Linked DNA regions of Homo sapiens: all the other regions are linked to region 4. The links are contacts of gene promoters, found by promoter capture Hi-C in blood cells and fetal thymus (Javierre and others, 2016). All regions are on one chromosome and are shown on one strand. Each heading gives the region's core, a stretch centred on a gene start or on the middle of the fragment in contact. The rest is flanking DNA. Distances are from core to core; before and after follow the strand shown. Region 1 has its middle 8.0 kb from the start of KCNH8. Region 2 has its middle 3.9 kb from the start of SATB1-AS1. Region 3 overlaps SATB1 (SATB homeobox 1). Region 4 holds the start of SGO1 (shugoshin 1). Region 5 has its middle 140 kb from the start of ZNF385D-AS2. Region 6 has its middle 300 kb from the start of SATB1-AS1.

What was found. Contacts are between HindIII fragments. The CHiCAGO score rates a contact against its expected background, and 5 or more counts as called.
Region 1: a contact is called between a fragment that was not itself captured here and the fragment with the promoter of SGO1 in region 4, in 1 of 17 cell types (fetal thymus). The highest score is 5.2, in fetal thymus.
Region 2: a contact is called between a fragment that was not itself captured here and the fragment with the promoter of SGO1 in region 4, in 1 of 17 cell types (monocytes). The highest score is 6.2, in monocytes.
Region 3: a fragment that was not itself captured here is called in contact with the fragment with the promoter of SGO1 in region 4 in 1 of 17 cell types (activated CD4 T cells); the score reaches 5.8 in activated CD4 T cells.
Region 5: a contact is called between a fragment that was not itself captured here and the fragment with the promoter of SGO1 in region 4, in 1 of 17 cell types (M2 macrophages). The highest score is 5.6, in M2 macrophages.
Region 6: a contact is called between a fragment that was not itself captured here and the fragment with the promoter of SGO1 in region 4, in 1 of 17 cell types (monocytes). The highest score is 7.4, in monocytes.

What each region holds. Positions count from the first base shown.
Region 1 is chr3:19,138,974-19,141,967 of GRCh38, forward strand. No RefSeq gene overlaps it. Among named protein-coding and RNA genes, the nearest start is that of KCNH8, 8.0 kb to the right of the region's middle. The HindIII fragment of the contact is 1,319 bases long and covers 736-2,054 here.
Region 2 is chr3:18,439,918-18,442,770 of GRCh38, forward strand. It overlaps a transcript of SATB1 not described here. Among named protein-coding and RNA genes, the nearest start is that of SATB1-AS1, 3.9 kb to the right of the region's middle. The HindIII fragment of the contact is 2,874 bases long and covers 58-2,853 here.
Region 3 is chr3:18,411,430-18,414,286 of GRCh38, forward strand. All of the region lies in intron 5 of SATB1 (SATB homeobox 1), which reads right to left. Among named protein-coding and RNA genes, the nearest start is that of SATB1, 12 kb to the right of the region's middle. The HindIII fragment of the contact is 3,784 bases long and covers 1-2,857 here.
Region 4 is chr3:20,184,778-20,187,477 of GRCh38, forward strand. It overlaps SGO1 (shugoshin 1), which reads right to left and starts at 1,429. Exons shown (of 8, transcript NM_001199251.3): 1 at 1,171-1,429. It overlaps SGO1-AS1 (SGO1 antisense RNA 1), which reads left to right. Exons shown (of 4, transcript NR_132785.1): 4 at 1,198-1,338. RefSeq lists enhancers at 1,147-1,826, 1,847-1,906. The HindIII fragment of the contact is 754 bases long and covers 953-1,706 here.
Region 5 is chr3:22,092,128-22,094,924 of GRCh38, forward strand. It overlaps a transcript of ZNF385D not described here. Among named protein-coding and RNA genes, the nearest start is that of ZNF385D-AS2, 140 kb to the left of the region's middle. The HindIII fragment of the contact is 2,393 bases long and covers 116-2,508 here.
Region 6 is chr3:18,744,245-18,746,944 of GRCh38, forward strand. No RefSeq gene overlaps it. Among named protein-coding and RNA genes, the nearest start is that of SATB1-AS1, 300 kb to the left of the region's middle. The HindIII fragment of the contact is 1,226 bases long and covers 805-2,030 here.

The DNA.
Region 1 (2,994 bases), core at 145-2,644, 1.0 Mb before region 4:
CAAATGCTTCTATTTTGAGTGGCATTCAAATTAGGCTGAAGTGGAAAGTGGGTATGTGTGTGTTAGTCATGCAAAGAAGGTCTGGGAAGCACTTTTCATGAAGTGAGGTTATCATAATCAAAGTCATAGTCTCTAGAGGAGCACTGTGTATTTTAGGAACTTCTAGGAATTGTGTTTTCCTTGAGTATAAATTTTGAGGATGGTGAGAAATGAGCCATGGCAAATAAGATGGGCTCATAATCCCAGAGGCAAAATGAAGGGTGACATGCTCAGATTTGCCTTTTATTAAAATCATGCTAGCTACATTGTAAAGAAAGGCTTAGAGGCTAGGCAAGGTGGTTCACACTTGTACTCCCAGTGATTTGGGAGGCCAAGGCAGGAGGATCACTTCAGGGCAGGAGTTTGAGACCAATATAGCAAAGATCTGTCTCTACAATATATATATATATATATTTTTTTTTAATAGCTGGGTGTGTGGTGCATGCCTGTAGTCCTAGCTACTTAGCAGGCTGAGGTGGGAGGATCACCTGAGTTCAGGAGTTAGAGGTTACAGGGAGCTATGATTTCACCACTGCACTCCAGTCTGGACAATAGACTGGAGCCAAATATGGCTCTTAGATATAAGAATAAGGACTACTTGGGATCTCACATAGATTACTTGGTGGTATACACAGAAGTTTATGTGAAATAAATAGTTAAGGAGTAATATCGAGAGCACAATTAGGTATTGTCAGAAGCTTAGAGGCCTGGGTTTCAGAAAAAGATTAGGAAAGTGTTCTCAGAAAGGAAATATTTAAAATATGACAGTAACTGAAATGTAGAGTTTAGTGGCCCAGTTTATGGAGTCTTGAGGGAGACTAGAATATAAAGATAGGCTAAGGGAAGAGGGTTTTTTTTTTCTTTTTTCAAGAAACCCAACCATTCAACAGAAAAGACTCTTTCTGTTCAAAACAATAAAGTTTTCTATTTTAGAAATTTAGAAAGTTTTAAGAAGGAATTGACAGAGTCAAAGACAACAAAAAATTAGGAATATATGGATTGAAAATGTCCATTATTTTAGAAAATTACGTCATTATTGACTTTGATAAATCTTTTTAGAATGGTTGAAGAAGCAACAAGATCAAAATAATTTTAGATGGATTTTCAGGAAATTTACATGTAAAAGAAATGTGAAAGATCAGATAGATCAAGGAAGGATATGTCTCAGGATTAGAATAGCTGGAATATTTATAGGTTGAGAGAACAAACAAGTAGTGAGAGAAAAAGAGACAGAAACAAAGATATAGGACAGAAGGGGAGGACAAATGGAACATGATTCTGGAAACAGACAATGAAAATTTCAGGTGGCTGTGTATTACTTTTGGAGAGAACACCTAATCTTCTGGAAGAAAAGAAAGTAGGATGGACACAGTGTATACATACACTGGTACAGGAGAGAGCAAAAATGGAAGGTATTTACCATTAAGGTCTGATGAGACTGGGATTCCAGTGTTTGTGTAACAAGCCTGAACAGAGTATTGAAAATTGGATAGGCACTGAGGGACATGTTGTTTCCTGTGGCAGGAAATTTTCAAAACAAGAGAAAGATGGTGAGATTTAATAAATAAATAAGCAGTATTATCTCCACTTTTCACCTTCCACTCTTCCAAAGAGGCTCAGATTCATTGAATGGCAGTAAGATATGGAATGTATTCCTCCTTATGTAACTTGACCACTGTGAAAATTTATAAGAGTTGAGAATACTATTGGTTGAAACCATGTACCTCTTGGAATCTACTACTGAACTATTGCCCAAGGTCTGTTGCAGTGACCTGAATTCTGAAGGTGGGAATATATGCGGAATTACCTAAAATAGTAATACCTTGCATTTATTGAGTTATTACTATAATTCGGTCATTATTCTGTGTGTTTTATATTATTCAGTCATTTAAATATCACGAAAAGTCTGAGTTGGTGGTATCATCTTTTATTTTTATAGAGGGGATTTGGCAGAGTACTTTCCGGGTGCTCTTTCTCATAGGTGAGTAAAAGCATATGAGTAATTCTGGTCAGTAAGCTTTAGGAAGAGGTGATGTGTATAATTTCTGGGTTGAATCACAGGATAGCAGGTGACTTTTCTGTTCAGTGATCATGATGGAGGCCTCTGTTTCTGGATGTGCAACTGTAACATGGATGAGTGTCCATCAGCCTGAGTGCCTGAGTAATTGTGTAAAGAAGAGCCCCCTCTATTGCTTTATAAGTGATAATTACATTTTGGTGGTTAACTTACTTAAACTTGAGGTAGGGTATTAATTTGCTACCACAAAATAATCTAACATAGCCTGACTAACAAGTGATCAAAATGAGAGATATAGCACTAAATCATAGGGTAAGTAAGTACTTCTTCACTTTCCTCTGCAATGGAGAGATGGGGACAAATACGGCTCTTAGGAATCTGCTACAGAGCTAACAGCTCCAGGTCTACTGCAGTGATCTGAATCCCTAAGATTTTCTACCATGCCCATGGTAGACATTATTAATTGTTCTTCAACTCTCTTGATGAGTCTGGGAGCCATCTAGGAATTATTTTCAATACAGAAAGCCTAGTAGTTGCTATTAATTTTTAGGATTGAAGTGTATATAAAACCTGCATGTCATCCATATTATGGACGTTTGTTCATGTCACACCTTGTTTCTAACTGCCTTTGAAATATGTGGCAGAAGATCTAGGTAGGTTGGTTGACCCACACGCATTCTTAAACTGTTAGACCTTGCTTCTTTCTTTTATAAATCCTGGGTAATTAATCACTTCCACATTCTTTTTGTAGCTAAAGACATCTTTATTACACAGTGTTAGCTAATGAGAAATAGCAGAAATGTCCTGAGAGGAAAAGGAGGTTTTCCCAAGGAAGTTTTAACTTTTCCTAATAAAAAGAGCTGGTTTCAGCCAGCACTACCTCCTCCTCACTTCTGATAGTAGACCAAAGAAGTACTGGATGGAACTTTAGCAGCCAT
Region 2 (2,853 bases), core at 245-2,744, 1.7 Mb before region 4:
AAGGATGGCAGATTAACAAGAAGTCAAATGAAGGAGTTAAGAATATTTTCAGAGAAAAGCTTAGCGAGTCAATCAATAAATCAATCAATGAGCCCCACTTTATATTCATATTTTCAGAACTCCATTAAAAACTTAAACATTCCATCTAAGACTTGGAAGAGGAGACACTTTATTGAAGTTATTATCTGAGGAATCAAATAGTTTAATCTTTTTGGAACTTTGTAGAAAGTTAATTTAGCAAAACACATTTGAATGTGTTTGAACATATTTATCCTGAGGTTGCTTTAAGATGACTATTTTAAGTGGCATGCAGATTCTTTTGGGGTTTTGATGTTATAGTTGAGGTATGCAAAGTAAAAGTGCATAACATTTCTTTCAACTGGTTCTCACATGACAGAAATGAAAAGATGAAATTACTTGTCTTTAAAGTTTTGCCATAGGGAAATGATAAGAAAAACTCCTCTCGACCCCTATCCCCAACCAGGAAGAGTCTGAAGCCCTGGATTATAGCACAGGTAGATATTAAAATGGAGACAGAGCCGTTATTTAGTGGTGACAGGAATATAAATACGTGCACTAAACTATAAACTGGTATTTACTTCAGGAAGGTAAGTAATATTTTTCCTCTGATTGCTGCACTGTCAGTTTAATGCAGCGTAAATAAACAGTAGGTGCCTGCTAGCTCGAAGTAGGAAGTGTTCATTCCACACGAGGAACAGATTACTGAAGCCTGATGCTCATCATGCTGAAACATAACTTTCATTTTACCAGAAAATATACCCTACTGTGGATGATTTTTCGTGCCTGATCTATTAATTAACTTAACTCTGTTCTGTCAAAATGTAAACCAATTTGTAAAAATCATCACAGAGTTTTGGAGTTTGAAAACCAAATCAATTTGAAAAGCAAGAGTAATGACTGTTCTGTAATCTGATCACAAATGCTAAAAATGAATACTTAATATAATAAGCACAAACCACACAAAACTGAAAAAGACGAAAAACATTTTGAAATATCATAGAACTTAATCCAAGTTATCTGATTTACTCGAGATAGTCCTCATTTGTTAATTAAAAGCACCTGGCACCTTTAATATTTTGCAGCCTTGTGCCACTTTGGTCTTTTCAATATGTATGCTTATTCTGCTCTCTGAAATATCTGAAGGTAAACCATTCATAAAAATCAAACCCCATTCCTTAATTCCAATAGAAATATTGCTGAACTCTCCTGAGAGAAGCGGCAAGTTTGAAGATCAAATGATGATATCCTTCCTAACAGCATTCATGTAAAACGTGTTTTTTCTATTTTATGTATGCCACAAAGCTATGACAGTATATAGCAACTAATTTTCTTTTTATATATGAGTACTGAGCAAAATATTTCGTGGCAGCATTTAAAATAAGAACCCATCTTATCTAAAAAGTGTAAAAGGCAATCTGGGGAGGTTTCTATTTATAACATGAACAAAATTCTGATAATCAATATATTGAAAAGGGAAAAGAGATTAAAAACATTTTTGCATTCAACTACATCATGTCTAGAAATAGTCTGAAGATTGCTTTAGTCATATGCATTTATTTTAAATACTTCATCAATTCCAAGTGCTAATATATTAATTACAGCCATCCAAGACAATATGTATGGAAGAAACTATGTGTGTAAAGGGCATATCTATGTATAGCCCTTTTGGAAATTTACAGAACAGATGAAAACCCACTAGAGTGCTTTATAGAGTCCCTGCTGTATATCCATGTTGTGTTTAGCTTAACAGTGTTTGTAACCAAAATATTTTTACAATAATGAGGAACAGGTGCCTGTCACCTGACCTTTTAGGCCTAATTTACAATCCACAACCTGTCATATGAAAAAGAACTAAAAATTCTCCTCCAGATATTTTAGTCTTTACTAAGTTAATGTAGTATTTCTTTACCATCACTCAGCATATCATGTCTTATTTAATCACAGGTTCATATAGCTGGCAACAGATTTCTTTGCAGAAATAAACCAATATTCATTTTGTTGTCGTTCTTAAGATGCTGGGAGACAAAAGAACTACTTTTGTAGATTATCAACCAAAGAATATATTAATTTCTTACAAATCTGAACAAAAAACATTCCTTTTGAATACTTTTACATACAAAGAACTATTATTTATTACATATTTCAGCTTGTGGGAAAGTGAGGAATGCATTGATTCTGGAAATAACTATTCAGACTTTTGGAAGTTATTTAGGTCTTCTTTCTCTATCTTCCCCCCGCCCCCCATCCTGCCCTCCCACCAAATTTTAAGGAGGTAGTACTTTAGGAGGGAAATCCCTATTCGTTATTTTTTCATATATTATTTATATTCATTATTCAGAAATAAATACAAAATTGAATTGTAATTTTATTTCTCTTGTATAATGTTAGATGTAGCATTATCCAAATTTGACAATGCCTTGTATTTTATAGCTACTGTTTAAATATTATGTATTACCTATGACTGAACAACTCTACATTTAAAATATTGTTTTCATTAGAAAAAACTATGAAGTAGTAAGTGTCAAATGAAGATGAAGAATAAACATATTTGGTATATTTATAAAATGCATAGTCATTTAAAACGTGTACAAATAGAATACATAGTTTGCTACTGTTACATTTTATATAGTATACACATTGTCTACAGTGTATTTAATAATGTGCTTAACCAAGTTAATTAAAGTATTTATGTCTGATGATTGTGTAATAAACACTTGGAGAGGTAGTGAAAGATACAGCCAGTTACTTCTGCTAACTAAAGTTGAAATTATGCACTTATTATAACCTTTTCTAACAATGTGAGAAAAACAGAGTAAATATATTAAATTTGTT
Region 3 (2,857 bases), core at 181-2,680, 1.8 Mb before region 4:
CAAAATGAATCTACCCTGTATCAGAATGTATATACATTTATCTAGTTTTTAAATGCAATTTCTAAAACTCCAGGGAAAATAAGCATCAAAATGTTAATGTTTTATTATAAATAAAAATGTTTACTTTTTAAATTCCCAATTTTCCTCCCAAATCCATATCCTCAAAAGTTTCATGACTACAGGCTCTCTTGTCCCCAAATCAGTGTTTATTCTCTCCTTAGCTGCAGTTCAGAATGCACCATCCAACTTATCTAACCACATCCACCGAAAAAAACAAAAGTAACAACAAAACATCTAACCTCAGACCTATAATGAGCTAAGTGTTTCTTATGTCTTAGAACATTTTACAAAAATAAAAAAACACATGGTACAAAGAATTTAATAAATTAGTGTCAATCGATTTGGGCAGATTTATGATAGGAAAGTGATAACAGAAATAAAGGTATGAGTTGTAAATCAAACTAAGCCCACTTATGGAATTTCTGCAGCTGAAGAAAACCTTATGAATATCATCAAAGAAAACATTATTGTACCCAAATGTAAGTATTCCTTTTTTTTTTTGAAACGGAGTCTCGTTCTGTCACCAAACTAGAGTGCAGTGGTGCTATCTCGGCTAACTGCAACCTCCGCCTCCTGGGTTCAAGCAATTCTCCTGCCTCAGCCTCCCAAGTAGCTAAATCAGCACTTTAAAATTTATTGTCAGGCAAGGACATAGGCTTAGCAAGTCAGGACTTTCTTGTTAGTCATTGCACCGTGACTTTAATCTCCAGGGACACTGGCTCCTTCAATTATCAAAAGGAGGAGCCTAGGAAGGATAATCCCTTCTGGTTCTAAGAATCCAAGTCCAAATGGACATTTGCTTAGCAAGTATTAGACAATCGTCCTAAGAGCATTGGAGGCAGGGCTTATTCAACACCCCAGGCAAAATCCTGGTGGCTCCCCAGTTCCACTCCTCCTGGCCCCTGCTCTATAAAAGGAATTTACCTGCCCACAGGGTGAACTTTCTACTAACTATAATATTTAGGGCCCCTGTAGCCATACTTGCTACTGGAGTACTTTATCATATTCAACAAAATAAAACCCTTACTGTACAGTAAAATGTGTATGGTGTATTGCATGCTAAAGGTTCTCTCCCATGAATGAATCAACACTCCACAGGGGAAGAAAGGGCTTAACACTTGGCATTTCTTGGTGTTAGGTCCCATTTTGCTCAAGACTGAGGCCATATTTATTTGCTAGGCTTTTTTCACCATGACATCTTCATCACCAAATCTTAACCATAGGAAAAAGAGTAGTTTTGTCAAACTTGGCATATATTTTGGACATAGGCTTTAGGGAACTTGCATCTCTCATTTTAATAACTCTAGACAGAAAAACATAATAAAGAAGCAAACAGAAAACAGTTTATGTTGAAAAAATTCTGACTGGAGTATCAGATTCATAGAAAAAGAGAAGATGATTCAGCAAAATATAAAATAAGTACCTCATTTAGAGAACAATTTACATGTTTTCATATTATTAAATATTAATTTCAAATATTTGCTTTCACTCCTAAACTATGCATAATTTTTAGAAGTTTTTTTATGGAAAAGAATACTGCAATTATAACTGATGTTGATATTGTAGCCTAGTTCCATCACTTAATGATTACAGTGAGGTATCCAGCCACAGGAAGCCATATATCTGAAAACCTCTCTCTATAGAAATTCACCAATGTATGACTCCAAAACCAAGTCCTGAATTACATTTTGTCATTCTACTTAATGTTATAATTGTATGCAATTCATTTTCCATGATAACATTAAGTAAATTCACAATTCTATTTATAAGTTATAGTGAGGTAGAGTTTATTGGCTGAATGTTGATGTCATTTAACAATTAGTTCTCACTGACTGTATCAATAAATATTTGTAACGACAGCCTCTTCTTCAGCTCATAGTAAATGCCTTAAGTATTTGTCTGAATATACTTCCAAGATCAATGGGACATTTAGTAACATAAAGACACATGCGATTCCAGTACTGGGTGTTTACATCATATTTTAACTGAGTTTTTAAAAAGTTTATTTCTAGATCATTTCAAATTTTCATATGTTAGCAACCATGTAACATGTTATCTGGAGTTGTCTGCGAAACAAAGTCCCTGAAGTAAGAGTCACCCTTTTATTCTATCATCCTATTCATTTGTGATTAATTTAAATTATTTTTATTTGATGGTTATAAATTCATATCCTCTCTATTCCAAGGGTGAGAGAGGGAAGACAGGAGATTAGCTGTAGGTATAACTGAAATGACAAATAAGAGTTTTCTCTGAATTGCAAGAAATGGACACTTAACAATACAGAGAATATGTAACCTGTGGCTATAGCTTATTTTAGAATATATAGAAAGCTATTAATTATAAACAATTCATTTGCTTCATTCCTAAAATTTCTAGCAAATATCAAAGTAAAAGTGTTGGAACGTAACTTAGCAAATCTGAAATGCATGGAGTTTCTATGAAACAGAAGCACAAAGCTGACAAGATTCCCTTCAAAGGTACCCAATAATCTTCATAAGCCTCACATTAGAAACACATTTTGAGAATATCTGCTACTCAGAATATAGCAGAAATACACTTTGAGATCTCTCCACTGCAGAAATGTTTACAGCAGCATCCTACAGTTCAAGTTCAAATGGCTAAGACTAATATTCAGAATTAAAACTCAAATTAAAAGAAAACATTAAAAATCTGGTAAAAATCTAGTTGGACCAACATTTTAATTATACTGTATCATGGAATGGCCTTAAAACGGGTTTGGGTACTGAGGGGATGACTATAACACATTTACATGGTGACCACAAAAGCAGCCCTTTAA
Region 4 (2,700 bases), core at 179-2,678:
ACAGTTAAACGTTGAGTATTAAATACATAACTATACTTAATCTTTCAACGTTGCAAATCAGGTAGGCTTTAGCATGCTACTAAACATGTCAAACCACTTTTCACAAACATCTTTTACGCTAGATTGCACTTTGCAGATCTTAAAATTGCAAAAAAAAAAGACTTGTTTCCAATAACAATCTATGCACAGAATTTTCACTACAAAGGATATCTTCATCTCCTCTACGATAGTCAAATATTTTCCTAAACCTTACACTTAATCTTGAGTATTTCCTCCAGGCCTTATTTTCCTCTATGCAGTGTCTGGAATCTTAAATATAGGTATTGTAGATACCACTTAAGAACTTTCTTTCTACCAAGGTATATACAATATGTACTGGGAGGTTCCTAGCAGAGATAGGGTAGCTATTTTTAAAAGCACGAACGGTAAAGGGGTTGTTTTACACAATTAAGTTAGAATTGGAGATGTTTGAGAGTCATACAGATTAAGTAACGGATCTAGTTTAGTTAAGGTATTTTAAAGGCAAAGCCTTACCTAAAAAGCTTTCGTTATTACTTTTAATCAAGTTAAAAATCACAAAAGAAACTTGCCATATCAAAAGTTTTATATCCTGTCTAAATAAGGCGATGGTTATTAGCAGGGGGTGTGGTAGACAGAAGGGATGAAAGCAAAGACAGACCACAGCGCGAGATGACGGTCTCAATCTGTACAGTACTCGTGTAAGCGCTCTGGATTTAAAGAACCTAGCATATTTGATCTCCGTCCATAATTCTCCAATTAGTCCTGCTGCGAAGACAGCCAGGTAGGATACTAGTCAGTGCCGGCCTCTCCAGGGTAAGTGAGGAAGAGAATGGCCTGGACAAGGAGGACGTCAACGGTATCACGCTGCACAAAGAACTGCTGTCAATTTTCTTGTGTCCTTACGTTGAGCCAGGCTTTTAGCTATTGTAAAAGCTTTATTTGCACATCACTTAATCTACACAATTTTGCAAAGTAGGAAATTAGGGTCTCCATGGAAGCCGGAACATCTGAAAGCGCAGATCGAGTGGCTGAACGGCGAAAAGCGCGGCGAGTGGGACTCCACGGCCCGAGCTTTCGGCCACCGAATTTAGAATGATACTGAAAACCGAAGGGAAGTCAAACAGGGATCACTACGCCCTTGTTTCGCACCTTAAAACCTACTTCTTCCTCTTTCAGGGACTCCAGGAAGGCCGGGGGGAGGTGGGGCTGGCGGAAGTGGACGCGGCGACCCTCCTGCCGCAGGCGCGTCCAGAACGATACCTTGGCCACTACTTCTGCAACAGCTATCTTCCTCCTCCTCACATTTCAAGGCTCTTCGAAGCTCTCCAGCCACGGCTAGCCCCGCGCACTGGGCCCTCCAGGACCGTACCACCGTCCGCCGTCGCCTGGAACTACCGCCGCCACATTCGAAATTTTCCGCCTCGCTCCTCCATTGGTTGGCTGGGAGGCGGTCACGTGGCGCAGGATGCACCCAACACCACCGTCGCAGGCAGAGTCCCGCCCCGCCAGGCGACGTCACGTGACGCACATTCGCTCAAGTCCACATCCGGGCATCCACCTGGCCCTGGGGCGGAGCCTGCGGTCGGGTCTCGGCGACCCGCCGGGACTTTCTAATCAGAGTCGTGGGGATTTTACGGGTGGAGTTACTCCGAAACCTTTAAGGCCGAGTGTGATAGGTAGTTCAAAGCTTCCTGTTTCTTCAGTCTGACAGCTTCAAATGTCCCGGGTTGTGCTCAAAGCCTCCCTCTTGTGAGAAGAATCTCTTTGGTTGCCTGTTAAAGCGGTCAGCCAGCTTGCAACACGGAAGCAGCTTTTAGAGGAATTAAAACCAAAACAAGGAGCAAATTCTGGATTAAAAAGGTATTAGGGAAACTGCAGATACCTGAAAATTCTAGCTCCATGTTTCTCTTTGCCGGCTATCTCTGGCTCTTTAACTCTTCTCGAGAAATGGCACCAACATCCATCCAGTTACCGACTAGAAGCCTGAGAAATCGTCCTTAATGATTATTTATCCTCTCTTAACCTTTGCCCGTCCAGTCGGTCACACGATCTTCTCAACTCTGCTTTCCAAGTTTCTCTCATGCCCATCTTTTTCCCCCCAATCCAGCTTCCAGCCTAATCTCATTCCCTAAATTGCACTAGTACCCACTCTGACCGCAGACTCCACTCCCTATATTCTTCATAGATTAATATTTTTACAAAACAAGTATCAAATAGGAAACTTTACAATGGCTCCCTATTGCATTTAAGGTGAATTTCAAACTCCTTTAAGATATTTTGTCCTTAAAGAGCCCCATGATTCCTGGTTCCATCACTTGTACATTTTCTTTAATTTTCTTAAAATTCTTGCCACTTTTGCCAATGCTGTTCTGTCAAGAACACTCTTTCCCTTGGCCGAACTTACTCCTATGTATACTGAAGTTTCACTGTACAGATGAATTCTTCCAGAAAGACTTATCTACCCCTAAAGCCCCTGAGTGTCTGCTTTACACTTTCTTAGTGCCCTGCATTTTCCCCTTGGTATTCCTTGTGACACTGACTTGTCGTTCATTGCCTGTTTCTTGAAGTTGAATAAGGGCAGGAACTACATCTGCTTTGTTCATAGCTAAATTGTCAGCATCTCGTTGCAATTTGAAGTAAGTAGTAAATATTCACTGGGACAATAAAGGAACAAATAAA
Region 5 (2,797 bases), core at 62-2,561, 1.9 Mb after region 4:
GTCCTAGTCATCACTTTATTGTCTCTTGGTTGAAAGTTCACAATTTACTGCTTTATTTCTGACAGTGGGGCTGGAACCTGTAAACATTCCTTCTTTGCCAGTCAGGATAATGTTAAGCTTTGTTAGTAGAAGCTACTAAGGGGGAAATTGAAGGATGAATGGGTTTCTCTCCCAGGTTCTTTTATGCTTCTTGACGTTGGCTCCTACAACACAGCTTGTTTCTACAAAGCCTGTCCAGCCACATCCACAGCTTTTGCAGGGCCAGCTCCAGGTATCCAGACAGTGCTGACTCTGAAACCCCATCAGTTGCCTTCATGACAGAGTGCTGCTTGTATGACACCTATCTGTGGATGGCTTCTACTGATATCTTCCTGAGTACTTTGCAGCCTCAGCAAACCCTGCCATGCAGATGTTCATGGCTATGCCCTCTCCAATGAATCTGGATCGGTATGGTGTGTGGAAGCTGGTTCCAGACCCTCTTGCTTCTATTATGTATCAATTCAGCCTTATGGGTAGTGGCCCCTATAATTTGCTATTACTCTATTATTAACAGTTCTGTTTATTCTTTGCTAGCAAATCCCCTCTTACAGTTAATAATTTTTGATATTAAGATTACTGTCTGGTAACCTTAACCTGATGTTTATCTTCTGGATCCTGACTGATATACCTCTTACAGTTTTGATATTTTTAGTTTGAGAAAAAAAGAAAGTACTAACATTAAGGTCTGATTGTTAGTCTTCCAGGAATTATTAATTTTTTAGTTCTCTATTATTTATAACTCATCTATTCTTGAAATTACTAAAGCAAATTAGATATAATATTTTGAATGTTATTTAAATAAAATTAACGCAAATAAACTTATCAAAACTTAGCTGAGCCCAGCATCCAGGAGCAGGAAGGTCATAGCTCCCACACCCTAAAGTGGGACAACGTAGAGTCATAAGACAAAGAGTGTGGATAGTGGGAGAAGTGAAGTGTTGGTGCCAAATGAAACAATTTATTGCATTTAATAAAGAGTTAGAAAAACACCCTGAGGAAAAAAAAAGTTGTTAATTGTGTCTAAATCACTTAGTTTTAAGACTACTGACTTTACTATTTTTATAGAAATAAAACATTTTTTAGAAAAAAGTAAACCCAACATCTAAAACTTTTAGAAGGTATAGGCTTTTAATATATGCGCATTGACCTAGACATTTAACTACATATGGATACAAATAAAATATTATTAAATACATATAAAATATAGTTATAATTTAATAAAAGTGCAATTTAAGTAAAACATTAAATTTATTTTACTTAATTTAAAAAAGTTAAAGGAAATCAAAGTAAACAGAATGGCTGAACAAAATTTATCTTTCACAAAGGATAATATTAAAGGTCTATTTATTTATAAGCAAAAAACAGTTTGAAAACTACTAGAGGTTCGAGGATTATGTGGTTTAAATTACACATTTTATCCTCATTCATTATACGAGTTGACAACCTACTATAAAAAATAAGAAAGATTGTGATCACTCACCTCTGTCTTCCCACTCACCCTTTTTCCTAATTTTTATTTCTGCTACTCATGTTACTACTTTTATTATTTTTATTTTTTCAGGGATTAATAACATTTACAATCATATAATTATTATGGTCTATAATTCCCACAGTTGTTTAGCATTAGTTCCATATTAATAGGGATTCCAAGCAAGTTTTGTACTAAGATTTACTATATGTGCAGAAAAGTACACATACAGTAAACGTTAAGCTCGCTAACACTTTATAAATGAAGACATCAATATATCCACACAGAACATTACTAGCACTCCAAACAGCTCCCCACCCACTTGGTTCCATCCGTATTCCAGGGAAACTAGCACCTTGATTTCTAAAATAATACCAATTTAACGCTTTACAAATTTTAATAAGTGGGTTGACTGGATTTTATTGTCAATATTTTTAATAAAAGGCTATTGCTGTTGAATTCTCTAAGTTATTTCATGTTTAAAAATACGTGTCATTGCTTTAATGTCTTCCGGCATCAAATATTCTAATTTTCCTTTCTACCAATTATATTATTCATCTTTTGGTTGTTCATATTGCATTGTCAAGTAGCATTTTTTTTTCAAAAATTCTCATGGCTATGTGAGTTCCTCAATACATGTATTTATCCTTGAATGCACACTTGGCTAGGTATTTTATTCTTAAGTTGTACCCTTTTTTTTCTTTCAGAAATGTGCAGGCATTTTACCATTGTCTTCTGTCATTTATTGTTGATATATATATATATATATATATATAAAGGCATTTGTGTCATATGAGTCCTCCAAGAAAAAGACACACAGACAGACTTAGAAATGCCAGACATTGATTGAGGGTAACTCCCATGAAATAGAAAAGAAAGGTGGCAATCAGAGTAAGACATAGGCCAGACACACATGAAAGCAGAGGTGGAAGGAAGAAGTGAATATGAAGGGCCTGGAACTAAGGTGTGGTTTTGAGGACATCTCAGCCATCCCAGTGAGAAGCTTTGGTTCAAAGACTGCCCAGAGAGGAGCCCTGGGCTGGGAGAAGATGGCTAGTCATGAGAATACCAGACATGCTCAGTAGGTTACTGAGGTGGCCACACTGGGAAATGTGTGATTTTGTGTCAAATGCTGTCACAGATCTTTAAAAGAGTACAGCTGTAGGTTGTCAGTTAACTTCATTCCTCACAGCTGAGTGGAAAATGTTTTCTTGAAGGCACAGCCTCATGGTTGCCAGATATTATCCTTTTTCCTTTCTATGTTCCTGGAAATTCTTTCTCTATCTCTTT
Region 6 (2,700 bases), core at 168-2,667, 1.4 Mb before region 4:
TTTAGAAATGTCAACTATCCTTTTAGATATTGAATGAATACACACATACTCTCTTTCCCTCTCTCATAAACGCACACACAGACACACACTCACACTCACACAGCCATAATAATTATTTTACTTTCTCTCAAGTGAAACTACATTTATTCCACTCCATTTTGAGGGGAAGAGGCAGCAAGTGATTGGGGCTAAAGAGTCTGGTTAGCAGAAAATGATAGAGAGTTGGGGCTGTGGGAAGAGCAAGGAAAAAAACCACACCTTGCAACAAACACTCAATGCTGGGTTGATGGACTAGAAGCTTTTTCCCCCCTTTAGAAACAAAAGTAAGAGCCAAGTAACTAATGACTAGTGATATGAATTACCAGTATCAGGACACTAAGTTCTGGCCCCACTCCACTGTGACCTTTGATATGGCTTTAGGCAGATCACTTTGCCAATCTGTGCTTTCAGTTTTCTCATCTGTGAAATGCGTTTAATCATATTGACTTGTTTCCCAGGGAAGTAATGTGATATATTAATATTTGTGGAGCACTTTGAGATCTGATGATAAAAGGTGCATTACACTAAGTAGTGTTTGCTTCTCTCCTTGTCTCCTTACCCCCAACAGATAATCTATACTCCTATCATATGCATATTTTTGCAAAGTTCATGTAAATGACTCCGGGCTGTTTTATTTTTAAAAAATTAATGCTGTGATGTTTCTCCAGAATCTGACAAAACCATAAAAAATAAAAAGAGTAGCAGTGGCATACTATGAAGGTTAAAGTCTTGTAAAAATCCGTAAGAAAACAGATTTCTGTTCTAAGCTTGTGTGGGGTTATTATAAGCAACAGTCAGTAATAATGATTACAAAAATGAGGAAAAATACATTGACAGTGTCATTTGAAAACAATTGTGTTAAGAGGCTTTTTACACTCATTTTACACAGTGTAGGTATCCAAAATGGGTTTTAGAGGATATTAAAAGGATTGTTTTTCAAGGTATTAAGTGTGCGAAGAACAAGAATGAAAAAGAGAGAGTTGGCTGATGGAACTCAGCTCAGAGAAATGACCTAGCCACACAGTGTGGAGGGAAGGTGTAACAATTACTTCCTCTCTGGGCTTTTAGCAGTTCAAATATCTTTAAACAAGAAGAGATTGCCTTTTACATGTAATTCAACCTAAAATATTTTCTTCGTTTTTCCCCTCTTGCAGTTTCTCTAGACATTTGCAAACTCTTGATATTGGAAGTGAACTACATTTCATTGTTATTGATTTGATTGGCAAAAAGTGTGAGCAACATAGTTCCTCTTTTCCAATCCCTAATATCTTTCTGCTTCTCTCTCATCCCACTTCAAAAAAGTTCCTCATCTTCCCTTCCGTATCTTAGTTAATGTAACCATCCTTCTTCCGTTCAGCCAGACTGGAAACCACAGCCTTCTCTGACCTCATCATGATGCTATATGTCATACCTAATGTCCCAACAGTGTCCTTAAATGACCACTTCTCGGAATTTAATGCAGCACACGTGAATGACCTAAAGATCTTATACGAATGCAGATTTTGATTCTGGAGGTCTTGGATGGGCCCGACAGTCTGCATTTCTAATAAGCTCCCAGGTTGTGGCCATGTTGCTGGTGCATGAACCATAATATGACTGGCTAGGCATTAACCTTCGTTTTCAGGCAAGACTTTGGCTGTCTACTGATACAATTCTCTCTTCTTTTTTAGAAAAATATCCAACCCGAGCAGGATAAAACTGATCATCCTGAGGATATTGCCCTTGGAGTTAATTTTTTGAGAGAAATAAAACAATAAACATCATAAGACACAAACCCCAAGCAACTGGTGAGTAAATGGAGCTTCTCTATCACTCATATTCTCTTCTCGGACAGCTGTTTGCATTCCACTCCCTTACACATTGTTGTATGTTCTGTTTTGTCATAATGTATTCCTTTAACCATTTTTCTGAGAGTACACTATGTGTGAAACACTCAACTACACTCAAGGAATAAAAAAAAAATTAAATGGTATGATGTCCCACCACCAACAAGCTTATAATCTTACAAAGAAAAGAGCCAAGTAAGCAAAGAAATACAGTGAAGTGTAATATTTCCCTATGCCTAGAATATTCTTACTGTTCTGAACTCCTTTCCCATCCCCAAATCCTCACTGCCACACACACACTTTGTACCATAGCAACATTAAACCATGTTATGTAATACTCTAATACAAGTCATAATTTTAATCCCAAGAAATGTTGCATTATCAATAATCCAATTTCTATGCATTATCAAAAATTGTGATATAATAATTGTTCTAATGAAAGGTATTATGGTTTTGAGGCTGGATGGTTTTCAGGTTTATAAGGACTGAGAATTCCAGCAACAAATATGACCCTAAATATATATAACAAAACTTAAAAATTGCTGAGAAAATGTAGTTAGTACAACACTATAGTAACAGCCCTGGTCATAAAGAAAATTCAAATGTAGCACCACTGGTGATTGGCTTCCATTCTCATTCCATTGCCTGTTCTCAAATGGAGAACAGTGGGGCATGGATGGAGGTGGAGGGTGATTCTTGGGTGGGAGGCAAAGAGCAGCCAGGAAGATCCATCTTGGGAAGTACAGAGGCAGAATGTAGGCTCCGGGGAGTTCTCACTCCTCTTAGCCCATTTTTTCCAGAGTGGGATGGTGAAATTGGCATTTGCTACTCAGAA